Linked DNA regions of Homo sapiens: all the other regions are linked to region 1. Evidence: promoter capture Hi-C in human tissues and cell types (Jung and others, 2019). All regions are on one chromosome and are shown on one strand. Each heading gives the region's core, a stretch centred on a gene start or on the middle of the fragment in contact. The rest is flanking DNA. Distances are from core to core; before and after follow the strand shown.

Region 1 (4,533 bases), core at 1,506-4,005:
TGAATTTCAAGGCCTCCCAAAAAAGTTTTATCCATATAGACTTGCATTCACTACATTTTTTCTACTTGAAAATAGCAAACCAGCTATTCACATAAACTGCTAAGAGGAAGTAAGCCAACCATAAAAAATTACATACTGTAAAATTACTTATATGTGAGGGTCAAAAACATGCACAGCAATACAGAATAGTAGTAATGGTGGTGGATGTGGTTGGAAGGGTCGCTTTTTAAAAACGCCTCTATTGAACATTCTGTATATTGATGTGGGTGGTGGTTACCTGGAACTGTACATTTGGCATTTGAGCATTTTACTATATCTTTAAATTGAGGTATGTATTTTTTAATTCTTTAAAGAAAAACTGCTTGGAGGTCTTATTCTTAATGCACAACAATCACAAACATTAAATTTATACAGTCCAGAGAATGTAAAGTTGCTTTAAAAAAATTCTTTCCTTTTCTCACTTTAAAATACCAAGGGGAAAAATTAAACTCAACACAGCACGTCTTGCCCTTGTCAAGATGACAGATCCTCTAAGAGAAGAAACGAATAGGTAATGGCCTTTTCCAGATTTTCTTTTCCTAATGTACCCCACTTCCAACCTACCCCTACCTCAACTAGGGTATCTAGTTGTACCCAAGGGTGCTTCTACATTAGATCCACAGAGATTAAAGATAACAGTTAACAGAATAGTCCAGAGGACAAGGATATTCAAGTTCCATCATCTTCAGGATAAAAAAGCTCCAGGGTTTACCTCCAAACTCTCTCTAAAGGAAATCCCATCAACCTTTTAAACATCACTTTGTATACACCATCTTCTATACTGCCCTAGCTCAAAAACATGAACCTGTATCTAAACGTGTTTGTAGAATTTCCATTGTAAGTTTTACTTTAACAATTTTGAACAATTATAATGATAGAAAATTATTTAATCTAGATTTTGGTCAACTCTATTACTGATATTCTTTTTTAGTGAAGGACAATCACAAACACTAAATTTATACAGTCCAGAGAATGAAAGATTGCTTTAAAAAATTCCTTCCTTTTCTCACTGTAAAATAAAAATACCAAGGGGAAAAATGGAAAGTATTTATTATAACTGGCTGTTACACTGTCATACACAATGAAATACTGGACCATTAGCAGTTCGTTATTATATGTTGTTAAGTGTAGAACTGTAAATAATGAGGCATATTATTAAGATATCACACACATTATCCAATCAGCAAGTGCACAACTTCGGACATTTTGACTTCAGCCAAAATATGAAACAAAGTCATAGCAAGAAAGTTATTTCAAGGGAGTGAAATTTTCTCCTCTTACCCTTCAAATCTTTTAGAGATATTAATAAAAACAACTATCCAGCCTGGGCGATATAATGGGACTCCATCTACATACACACAAAAATTTTTAAAATTCGTTGGGTGTGGCAGCACACGCCTGTAAACCCAGCTACTTGGAAGGCTGAGGCAGAAGGATCCCTTAAGCCGGAGTTAGAGTCTGCGGTGAGCTATGATCTGACCACTGCACTACAGCCTGGGCGATAGAGCGAAACCTTGTAACAACAACAACAACAACAAAATTAAAACCTTCAAGATCAAGCTTGCCCAACAGGATGGCTTTGAATGCCACTCAATGCAAATCTGTAAACTTTCTTAAAACTTTATGAAAAAAAATTTTTTTTTAGCTCATTAGCTACCATTAGTGTTAGTGTATTTATGTGTGGCCCAAGACAATTCTTCTTCCAGTGTGGCCTAGGGAAGCCATAAGGACCCCCTGCGCTAGACTTCAGCAGAAGCCTTGTAACATAAAGAAAACCATACATAAGGCTTTAGATTCTTTTTTTTTTTTTTTTTTGTGACGGAGTCTTGCTCTGTCTCCCAGGCTAGAGTGCAGTGGCACATTCTCGGCTCACTGCAACCTCCGCCTCCCTGGTTCAAGCGATTCTCCTGCCTCAGTCTCCCGAGTAGCTGGGACAGGCACCTGCCACCGCGCCCGGCTAATTTTTCTATTTTTAGTAGAGACGGGGTTTCACCATCTTGACCTGGCTGGCCTCGAACTCCTGACCTCGTGATCCACCCGCCTCGGCCTCCCTAAGTGCTGGGATTACAGACGTGAGCCACCGCGCCCGGCCAGCTTTGGATTCTTTTACCACTTTCCCGAAGGAAAAGGAACTGAAAATATCTAAGGAAGGACTACTACGAATCTTCTCTGAGTGGCAAAAACCAGAGGTTTTTGGAGCTAGGGCTGCAGTTAAGTTGCCAAGGGGCAGAGATGTAAACAGTTCCTGGTTTAGTTAAAATATTTTAATTTTTATTTTTTTAAGCCTGGCCTTTGGGTGAAGGAGTAAAATTAGGCACTGGGGTCTGGGTAGGGGGAGGATACTCATGGGCGAGTATGCAACCCTAGGGCCACAGCACCCAAACTGTAGGGGAAGAGGCGGGGCGAGAGGGGACGAAGTAGAGACAGCAAGAGACTCACTTTTGAAAGGCACTTTCGGTTAGAAAGCATTCTCACATGCTTATCTCATCGCACACAGTATCCTTTCTGCTGGTCTCCAGCATCTACAGACGTTAAAGGCCCAAGAGGAGGGCCACCTTCACACGAGATTCCGAGGAGGGCCTCGCTACCCGCCAGTTCCCGCGCCTCGGCAGTCCGCCGCGAGCGTACGTCACTCGCCCGCCGCCAATCGGCGCCCGGCAGGTCACCTCTCCTCCCAGGGCCCGCCGCCCCGCCCGCCGCCCAGGCCGAGGCCGCCAGTGCCCGCCGGCCGCTTCCGCTCCCGGCGCAGGCGCGGCAGCTTGGCCAGAGCGGAGGGGGCTCGGGAGAGGAGTGGACGCCGCTGGCCAGGATGGTGCTGGAGAGCGTGGCCCGTATCGTGAAGGTGCAGCTCCCTGCATATCTGAAGCGGCTCCCAGTCCCTGAAAGCATTACCGGGTTCGCTAGGCTCACAGGTAATCCTCCCCCATCAGCCAGTCCCCATCCTTGCACGTTCGCCAAGCGGGGGAAGGAGGCGTAAAAATCCTAGGGCCAAGGGGCGGGACGGAGCTCGGCGCCTGGCACGTGATCCCCGCGCGCAGAGGAAGGTGGGCGCGCGCCGACGCAGCTGCCTGGGGAACGCCTGTGAGGCAGTCTCCGGGTGCTTGATGCCCCAGGGTCTTTTGTCCTCGGAGTTGTCTCCGGTGTCATTCCGTGGCAAGATACCAGGTTTTTGCAGAGAAGGTGCTGAGTTGGGAACAGGCCAGTCTCTTTCATCTCCTGTCCTGCTCATCGCTCTCTGTAGCGTACTTGTTTATTTTAAAGCGGGCTAAGTCGTCGTTATCTAAGGCCTCATGTAACAGGCAGCCCCAGCTACCGGCTGGGTTGTACCCTCAGCATGTGGGTGGGAGTGTGTGGGAGAGAAATATAGACTTACACGTAACACGTATATGACCGTTTTATTTAGTAACGAAATTAGGAGATAACCTCCATTCCCTCAGGTTAGAATTGACCTATCATAGGTGGCATTTGAGGTCATCTCCGTTTCTACGGTCCCGGGGCCCGCTGCGGTAACTTAAGTTGGAAGAAAGATACCTTACCCAAGAAAGTATTCGAAGGCCGGTATGAGGAGTGAAATCTTAGAAAATGAAATTTAGTGAATATATGTAACGTTCTATACTTAAGGACCCTCACTTAACCCACACAACTCATGAGGATTTCACATCTAAAGGATGAAAATCTCCAGAATGCAGTCAACACTTGGGAGATTGTGTTGAGTTATGAGCATTTCATTGTAAGGGGGATATTTCTAAACGGAACTCAGACCGAGTAGGATGGTGAAGGAATCAGCAAGTATTGAACTCCTATGTCCTAGGTTATCAGGGAGTGCAAACATGAATTAAGATAATTCTGAGGTAAATAGGGTTGCTTCGCCGGGAACGTTCTAAAGATCTGTAGTACCTGACCTAAAATACAGCAATCGCACAGCTGTCTGGTAGAAGAAAAATAAGATTTGTGTAGACTAAAATATAGAACTGATAACAAATTAACCAAATTAGTGAAGGTTATTGGGAGGTGAATTTCAGTCTAAGGAAGATTTTTTTTTAAATTAAAGAATGCTTTCCCCAAACAAATGTGGTGCTTCAGTGATAGCCCCTCTCAAAGATGAAAAAAACAAACAAAAAGACTCTGGTGGTGGGTGGTCGATAGATTTAGAAGGGATAAACTAGATGACAAATTCTCTTCCAAATCTAGAGATTCATTGAATTATGGTCAGACAGACGCTCTGTTGAGTGGATTGTGAGATTTTAATATTTTTTAAATATTAAGAGTTTTAGTAGAAAACATGCAATTGAATAGAAAGCATGGTAACAATAATAAACATTAAAAAGGAACATTAAACATCAGAAGCAATGCAAAAGTAAAATAAAATGAAAAACGTTTCACATCAAGTGTTTATAAACATCAGATCTTTTGATCCTACCAGTTTACTCTGACAGAATTGCAGCAATTCCATAAAATTTTGGCTTTCCCCACTTCTTTTACTTAAGTACTTTA
Region 2 (4,533 bases), core at 1,405-3,904, 1.6 Mb before region 1:
AATTTCCCAATAAAGCCTTTCTCTTCCAAACTAAAAAATGTAATTAAAATGTCTTGCATCAGACTTAGAAGCATAAAATTACCAGAAATAAATCACAAACCAATCACCTTCTCACTGAAAAAAGTTAGGACAATGTTCTAAAGTCAAAAATAGCAATTGTTACAGAATTAATAGTAAAGATGAGTGCCTAGAATTAAAAAAGAAAAGGGTAGCCACACACACACACAATTCAATTACATTTTACAAATGGCAAGGTCAAAAAAAAATGTGTGATCCAAGAGCAGCAAATGGATGAGTAACAGTAAGGCAGAGGTTCAAGGTGAGAAACAAGTTTGGGGTAGCTTAATTAAGGATCTAAGGAATGACATTTAGAAAGCAGAATAAAGTAACAGGCAGGAGAAAGGCTGCAGGAGGTCCTAGAGAGTTAGAAGCAGAGTAAGAGCCAGTAAGCAGTTGACCAACATCAGATACCTGACTCTGCTGTGCTTGTGGGGCAGCCAATGATCAATTAGAATTTCCGTTAGTAAAGAGTGGGAAAAAGCATTCCCATGACTCACATGGGATAATTGCTAAATGGTTAATGCTGTATATAACTGCGTATTTTGTATCAGAATAAGTACAGCCCTCCAAAAGATAACTTGCAGAGTCATTCATCAGCTTCAACTGAGCAGCCTGATTGAAACCAGCTGAGCCAATGACATCACCACAGGCTTTTTACTATAAAAAGGGCAAGCTCTGTGAGGTCAGGAAGTAGAACTAAGCTCCGTGAACAGAAGCCAAGCTGAAAGAGGGAAGAGCCAAGAGAAGTTCAGAGAAGAGACTCATTCCAAGAAGAAGCTAGAATGAGCAATTTGCTCAGAGACAGCTGCAGAAGAAAAAGGCACACAATGGAAATCTTCCTTTAAGAATAAGGGGCTGCTGTTTCTCACTAAAGAAGTAAGTTATCTAAAGTGAAGTTTCAAAGGAGAAATTGACGGAAGCACTTTCACATTTTCAGTTCCTGGAACTGAAATCAACTATAACATCATCGTGGTAGTAATGTTCATGTAGTCTTTTCCCTCAATGTATATTAATTGAGCACTTACTATGGACCAGGCACTGTAGTAAGAAATGGGAACACATTAGCGAATAAAATGGACAAAAGTCACTGCCCTCTTAGAGCATATATTCTTGGAATGTAAAGCAATAAACAGACAAATATACGGCATGTCAAATAAGCATTAGAGAGAAAATTAAGAAGAAAAAGTAGCCAGATTGAGAATAGTGATATTTGAGCAGACGTAAGGAGGTGGGGAGACTAAGCCATGTGGGTATCTGGGAGAAAAGCATGGCAAACAGAGGTAATAGCAAATATAAAGGCCTTGAGCTGTGAATCTGTTTTCTTTTTTAAATAAATATCAAGAAGGCCACCATTACTGCTCAGAAAGAACAAGGGAAAGCAAGAGTCTGAGTGTGGACAAGTTAATTTAGACAGGCAAGTGAAAGTGTTAAGCAGGTATTTTGTATATATGAGACTAGAGGCACTGAGGAAAGATTCAAACTGTAGATAAAAACTGGAAACGGACCAGGTGTGGTGGCTCATGCCTGTAATCCCAGCACTGTAGGAGGCCGAGGCGGGTGGATCACCTGAGGTCAGGAGTTCGAGACCGGCCTAGCCAACATAGTGAAACCCCATCTCTACTAAAAATACAAAAATTAGCCGGGCATGGTGGCATGCACCTGCAGTTCCAGCTACTTGGGAGGCTGAGGCTGGAGAATCACTTGAACCCAGGAGGCAGAGGCTGCAGTGAGCTGAGATCACCTCATTGCACTCCAGCCTGGGTGACAGAGCCAGACTCAGTCTCAAAAAAAAAAAAAAAAACTGGAAACCATCAGTGTCATACATAAAAGAAGAATGCTTGAGCTCACTCCACAAATGCATTATATAGAAAAGAGAAGGGGGCATTCCAATGGTTAAATGGTTAGAGACTGGAGAAACAAAGAAGAAATAGGAAAAAAAAATGACTGAGAGAGAACAGCCTATGATGCAGGAGGAGAACCAAGAGCATGTGATTTGCAAGTACTCCAGAGAAGAATGTGTTCCGGGAGAGACAGTGTGATCAGCTGTGTTAAATGCTATGCTAAGTCAAATTAGATGAGCCTGCTATTCAACCTGACAACACTGAGGTTATTGGAGACTTTGACAAAAGAAGGCTCTGAAGCAGTGAATGAGGAAAAGCTTTGGAGAGGGTTCAAGGAAGAATGGGAGAAGAGCAATTTGAGACAGTGAACGTACATAATTCTTTTGGAGAGTTTTGCTCTGAAGAGAAATGCAGCAGTAGCTGGATAAGAACATGGGCTCAGGAGAAGCTTTATTATTTCAAGACAGTAAAAACTATGGCATCTTCTGCTAATGAGTATGATCCAACAAAGAATAGAAAATGCTGATGCAGAAAAGAGGACTTCCTGGGGCAATGCTCTTAAATACGTAAGAGGGGGTGAGATCCAGTAAAGAAGCCTTGGCTCTTCTTTGGTCTAAGTGAAATTTAATGTGTATGGATTATAATATAATTTGATTTGTATAAAAAGTTAATATAATTGAGTTGGCTATGAATGAGAATGTATCAAAAAAATTTGCCACAACTTTCTGAAAGTCTTAAGTTATTTAGGCTATGCTACAGATGGTTTTTAAGTCAATCAAATGTAATAAGAAAGTGGTTAAACATTCAGCATCCAACTCAACTAAGTCAATCGAATGTAATAAGAAAGTGGTTAAACAGCATTCAACTCAAGTAAGAAAACAAACTAGGTTCTTCCATAATTTCATTTTAATTTTATATAGTGAAAAAAGCATCCTCCCTAAATTAATCAAAATGCTTGTCTACATATAACAAAGACAGACTTGCTAGTTATTGAGGGTCTTTTTCCTGTACTAGTTGCCAAATGACAAACCTGGGGAGGAAAACAGAAGAATCTGCATTCAACATACATTCAGTTAGACCTCAGGGGGCCTATAAATACACATTCATGGAGCTTTCCATATCTACAAAAATTGATATTTGATATCCCTCCACCCCATACCTTTTCCTGGGAAAAGCTAGTCCAGAAAATGAGAATATATTATCTTCGCATCTATGGCAAGTTTGAAAGTGACTTGCAGTTATTCTATATGAGCTTAGATAATCCACTACCAAAATCATTTTAAATCTGGCTTAACTGCTAAGGCCAATTTTGAGTAGAAGTGTTTTTGACAGTCAAAGCCTTGATAACCACTTCACACCTACCTAGAGGCCCCTGCAACCAAGAGCTAAGTGGCAACAGAAAAAAACTACAGTTTTTCTATCCTATCTGTGAAAACCAGAAGAATGACAAAGGTGATTAGATGAGTGAAATGTGATGGACAGACCTCACTACAATTCATGTTAGATACAGGTCCAGACCTCTTCCCAGAAGATTGCTTTAAGTTGGTAAGACATGGACTTACCTGATAGGTCCTGAATTCCACTGGCCTGTTCTAAATGACAGCGCAGTCAGCATATTCCCTGGATTGGACTGATCTCAGGGCTTCTAGTCCTGGCTTCCTGTGTCAAGGTAGTGTTTGACTCACACTCATTCTGGGTTCTTCCCCATTTCTTCTTTGGTCTATTCACTTGTTGATTTTGCAACCCAAATAATACTATTGTCAATAGATGTCCAAAGACTGGGGTAGAATTAATTTAACATAATGCATGTGGCTGCTTAAACACCCTAGCAAGCTTCCCTTCCTGAGCCTGCTGAGATGCAGGAAGTAAAGCAAGGCTCCCACCCACCTCGCACCACAGAAACATGGCTGATTTACACAGAGGAGGAAAACCTGTTTCCGGGGCAGTCCCCAACATATTTAGCATGGACTTTTAAAACAGCTCATCCAACTCTAATTTGAAATCTAACTTTGATAAAATAAGCAGCCATTTTAAGTAAATGCCTTTCTTTTCTATCTATCCTTCACTTATCTGGGTCAAGTATTATTTGGTTCATATGTATTAAATAATAAGAGTTAATTTTATAGGTTCACATAATACAATTAACACATTCTCAATCAAAGCTCTTTCTTCATGTTTTAAAAATGTAAAACAAAACAAAAAACCCTTCAAAATCAAAACCTGCACTACTCAGTTTTCTCACAAATTATTAGTATTACCACTTTACAGGAAAATAAAAATTTACGGGAAAGCGTCAAATTTCAAAAAGATGGTTTTCAAACACTTGGTTTTAACATGTAGCTGGTCAACAACATAGGTTCAGATTAAAGCAAGTATCTATCCCTAATGTGGCAAATAATTTCGTGACTTGAAATAGCAAAACATCTAAGCCTTGGTATCAATACTCTCTGTAACAAGAGAGCATTGTCTAGCATGGCTCATATTGTTGCTTTTGGCTATAATGTTCTTTGATTTCCTTCTACACAATGTTATAAATCATTAGTCTCTCAGGTTAGTAAAAGTTTACTCAACATAGAGTGGTATTTTTAATTAGCAATAAAAAAGGTAAATAAGTCAGGTGCAATACAAGTAA
Region 3 (4,533 bases), core at 1,076-3,575, 1.0 Mb before region 1:
TTTACATTAACATCTACTCATAGCTTATTCTACAATTTTCTTGATTTAAATTATAGAGTCAAAAAGTCAATTCTGTAAATTCTTCATAGATTACTCTACTGTTAGAGTACATGATATGTTCTGTTTCCTCTTTCTCCTTGGTAGGAACCCAGACTCCCAGTAAGCCTTCACATACTGTGCATAGTTAAGACTACCCCATAGGCTGCTTGATATTGACTAATCTAACTCATATCCCTGCAAATAATCTACTGTAATCTTTTAAATAATATTATTGTGTCCTTTGCTGTTAGAAGTTAAAAGTATAGGGTATAGGGCAGACTGCCCGCATTGGAGTCCTGATTCTAATACCACTTCAGTTTTCCCATCTGTAAAATGAGGAAAACATTAGTACTTACTTAAGAGTGTAATTGTGAGAATTAAATGAAACAGCATGTGTGAAACACATAGAGACCTAATTTATTTTAAATGCTTGATAATTTTAATTATTATTAATTTTATTTATACTCCTACTATTTTTATAACTGTAGACCAGCTTATTCTGGCTATATGCAATATGAAGAAAACCCTCCTCCTACCGTTCCTCAAACATAAAAATACTGAATTATGGCATAATATTTCTGTTTGTTAAACAAGTTATTTAGCATCCAGGCTAGATGAGATACTACACTACTATACACAGAATAACAGAACTATATTGATGATTCATATACAACTTACGTGTGATTCCCATATGTTTTCTGCCAGATGTTTTTTTCTCATTCTACATACATAAATATGTAAAAAAAAGTTGTTGAATATCTGTTCAAGAAATTGTGCTTGGCATTGTGTAGGAATTTGGATTGAAAAATAAAGCATCTGCCCTCAGAGATAATATTTATATCACGAGAAAAGACAGAAATACATAAACCCAATAATTCAATAAAATACAAAAGCTCTCAGAATCATTATGGTTTTCTTCACCACATCAGTGGTGTAGAAAATACATGCTCTGTTTTCAGAGGAAGAAGATGACAAGAGTTTGGCGTTTCACTCTTTGTACTCATGATAATACTGTACAAACTGATCTTTAAAAATGATTATGTTTTGTAAAATAATATAAGTTTATTATAAAAATATAAGCAATATGGAAGAGTGAAGAAAAAGAAAGCCATATATCTCTCAAAGTCCTCTCTCTCACATAAACAATTGTTGCTAATGATAGAATTATTTTAGGTAGATAGGCATGGAGGTACTATTTTATTAAAAATGAGATTTGGGTTTACATGCTATCTTTAAATATAAAGTTAATTTAAAGTAAAACTAATGATATATTTTAAGATAAAAATTTCTTTGACTACTTTTTAGATTATTTATTATTGTTTAGGGAAAAATGATACAAAAAATATTGAATGAAGTCATTATTTTAAATTAATGTTTCAAATTTAGGCAGTGTTAAAGGATTAAATTCTATTAAAGATGAGGTTAGAATGTTTTACTTTCTCCTCCCCAAATGCTCAGTTTTTCCCACTGTGTAATCACTTTTATTTCATCAAGTTAAAATGTGCGTTTTGTAGTGCAATCATAATGCCCTCAGCATTTGGTTGTTGTTCTATATGTACGTGTATTCAACTCACCCTATTCTTTTTCCAAAGTTTTTTTAATTTCTGTTTACTTTACTTTGGTTCTGCTATTTTTTGGCTGGATTTTCCTCTATTATTTAAATTTTGATTACAGTTACACTTTCATATAAAACAATGATAAAACATAGTGAAAATCAACAGTTCTTCACTTTCCCTTTCCCCAAATACTATTCCACACTTCTAAGAACCTTAAAAGCCATAGTTTTTTCAAAGTTTCTTTTTTTATTCCTTTGCATATTTCAAAAAGATACATTTATATTATGATTTCTTGATTTACTAATTTTAGCTATTATCTATTGTCTTCCTATAAAACATAAGATAAGTATTTGTATACTTTTGTTAGTCTGACTCTTCTCTTATTCTCCAGGATATTTAAATCTCAACTTGTCATTAATTAATCAATTTTTATATTATTATAACTATAAACACATGCACACTATTGTTCCAAATAGTCTATAATTATCCTGCTTTCTTTCATAAATTTTGGGGCTTTTTTCCAGAATTAATATTTACTTCATTTTTGTTTTTTATGCAAAATATTGAAATGTACCTATCTTTAATTCTTTTTGTAAATGCCCTATTAGACCTGTCCAACCTCCATTATTAGCATATTTTCTCTAATTTTCAAATACATGTGATAATGTTACAAATGCTTTATTTATTTCCTATGTCTTTCCCTCCCCAAGTCATATAGCTTTTGCAGGTGTATTGCAGTATAACTTACAAACACAATCTAAGATATGTAGATGAGTGAATTTATATATATATATATATATATATATATCTCCATATATATCTACCACCTAGATCAAGATATAGACCATATCCAGAACTCCAGCAGGCTCTCTCATACCTATTTTGTTAATTCTACCCTAAAATATTCAGATCTGTATCACTGTGAATCAAGTTTTCTGCTTTGGAACTTTACATAAATACAATTATGCAATATATACTCTTTCTTCTTTCACTCAATATTATGTCTTTCGATTCATCCATGTTGCATGTAGCATTGTTACATTCTTTTTCATTGTTATGCAATATTTTATAGTATGAATATACTGTGAAAATTAGTTTTGTAAAAATTTTCTTATAATTCATCTGGCCTTGAAAATGCTCTAAAGAAATCAAGACCAACCTCACATTTCTCTTATTGTGGTGACTTTGTTTTCTTTCCTGGATATGTGAAGAAATTTTATAATTATCATTAAGTTAAGGACAATTTAATCAAGATCTGTTTTCTCTTCTTTTTTTTTTGAGACAGAGTCTCACTCTGTTGCCCAGGCTGGAGTGCAGTGGCATAATCTCCGCTCACTGCAAACTCCGCCTCCTGGGTTCAAGCCATTCTCCTGACTCAGCCTCCCAAGTGCCTGGGACTACAGGCACCCACCACCACACCCAGCTAATTTTTTGTATTTTTAGTAGAGATGGGGTTTCACTGTGTTAGCTAGAATGGTCTCGATCTCCTGACCTCGTGATCAGCCCGCCTCAGCCTCCCAAAGTGCTGGGATTACAGGTGTGAGCCACCGCGCCGGGCAAGATCTGTTTTCTTTAACAGTTTTAGCTGGAGCCTGATTGTTTCACATTGATCCATAGAGCTGGTTCCTTTATCTTTCTTATTTCAAGGATTTTAAAAATTATTAAAAATTACATGTTTTACAGTGTTTTAATGTGTATATTATTCTCTTCTACGTCAGGCTTTTGGATCATCCTTATACTGAATCTTTTCTGTTTTTGACTCTCAACTAAATATATCGTATTTTCAACAATTGTGTTAGCCTTGTTCTGTTTCTCCTCCTTTGTTTTTTTTTGATTTACTATGAAAATATCAAGCTTTTCTTTTGGGCCAGAAATTAAAATATTATCTATAACATTATCTATGTCTAATCTACTTATTTCTTTTTCTAATTTATTTATTATCTGGGTAATGGTATTGTTTTGGCTCGTTTCCTTATTTATTATACTCTTTCATATCATTCTTTTTAAAATTTAAATCAACTTGTCTTTGAATTCTAGTTTTATTTAATCTATGATTTTTTATACTATGAAGGACTTTCATAGAGTTTTTCTCTGGTATAAGCAAATTAATATATTGCCTAGTGAGCATATTAAAATTTTTGAGAAATAATAATTTAACCTGCTGATAGCATTGCAAATATAAGAAAATATTTTTTCTTTTTCCAGGAAATACAAAAGATATAATAATGATATATGAAGAAGATGCTGAGGAATGGGCTCTGTACTTGACAGAAGTATTTTTACATGTTGTGAAAAGGGAAGCCATCCTGTTATATCGCTTGGAGAATTTCTCTTTTCGGCATTTGGAGTTGCTGAACTTAACGTCTTACAAATGTAAACTTTTGATATTATCAAATAGCCTGCTTAGAGACCTAACTCCAAAGAAATGTCAGTTTCTGGAAAAGATACTTCATTCACCAAAAAGTGTAGTTACTTTGCTTTGTGGAGTGAAGAGTTCAGATCAGCTCTATGAATTACTAAATATCTCTCAAAGCAGATGGGAGATCTCAACTGAACAGGAACCTGAAGACTACATCTCTGTAATCCAGAGTATCATATTCAAAGGTAGTGTTGCCAAACCTTGTTTGTTTTATTTTTATTTGTTTTTTTTTTTTTGTAATTAAAGAATTGCAAGTTGTTTTAGAACCAATAACTGGTGTCAGGATAGGAATAAGAAAAATGAGAGCTGATTTTATTCAACAGTATGTTGTACTGTCCACAAAATACATTAAGTTTCTTAATTTTTAGCTCTATTCCAATCAAGGCTTATTCCTTGTTCTAAACATGGCTTATAAATATATTCTTTAGGGCAGCCTGGATGAGATCATGGCAGAACAAGTATGGTATGCTCAAGTCATATGACAGTTTGGTTCTGGAAGCTGGTTTCTTATGTAACTGG

Evidence for each region. The method cuts DNA at HindIII sites, captures the fragments that hold promoters and counts their contacts. A contact is called where the count stands out against the background at its distance.
Region 2: a fragment that was not itself captured here is called in contact with the fragment with the promoter of CISD2 in region 1 in 1 of the 25 tissues and cell types used here (heart left ventricle).
Region 3: a contact is called between a fragment that was not itself captured here and the fragment with the promoter of CISD2 in region 1, in 1 of the 25 tissues and cell types used here (pancreas).

The regions. Positions count from the first base shown.
Region 1 is chr4:102,866,237-102,870,769 of GRCh38, forward strand. It overlaps CISD2 (CDGSH iron sulfur domain 2), which reads left to right and starts at 2,756. Exons shown (of 3, transcript NM_001008388.5): 1 at 2,756-2,951. The coding sequence starts at 2,849. It also overlaps a transcript of UBE2D3 not described here. RefSeq lists an enhancer at 2,207-2,346 and silencers at 2,577-2,866, 2,897-3,016. The HindIII fragment of the contact is 16,318 bases long and covers 61-4,533 here.
Region 2 is chr4:101,278,976-101,283,508 of GRCh38, forward strand. All of the region lies in intron 1 of PPP3CA (protein phosphatase 3 catalytic subunit alpha), which reads right to left. Among named protein-coding and RNA genes, the nearest start is that of MIR8066, 40 kb to the left of the region's middle. RefSeq lists an enhancer at 557-851. The HindIII fragment of the contact is 3,822 bases long and covers 744-4,533 here.
Region 3 is chr4:101,826,008-101,830,540 of GRCh38, forward strand. It overlaps BANK1 (B cell scaffold protein with ankyrin repeats 1), which reads left to right. Exons shown (of 17, transcript NM_017935.5): 2 at 3,801-4,199. Among named protein-coding and RNA genes, the nearest start is that of BANK1, 38 kb to the left of the region's middle. The HindIII fragment of the contact is 3,526 bases long and covers 563-4,088 here.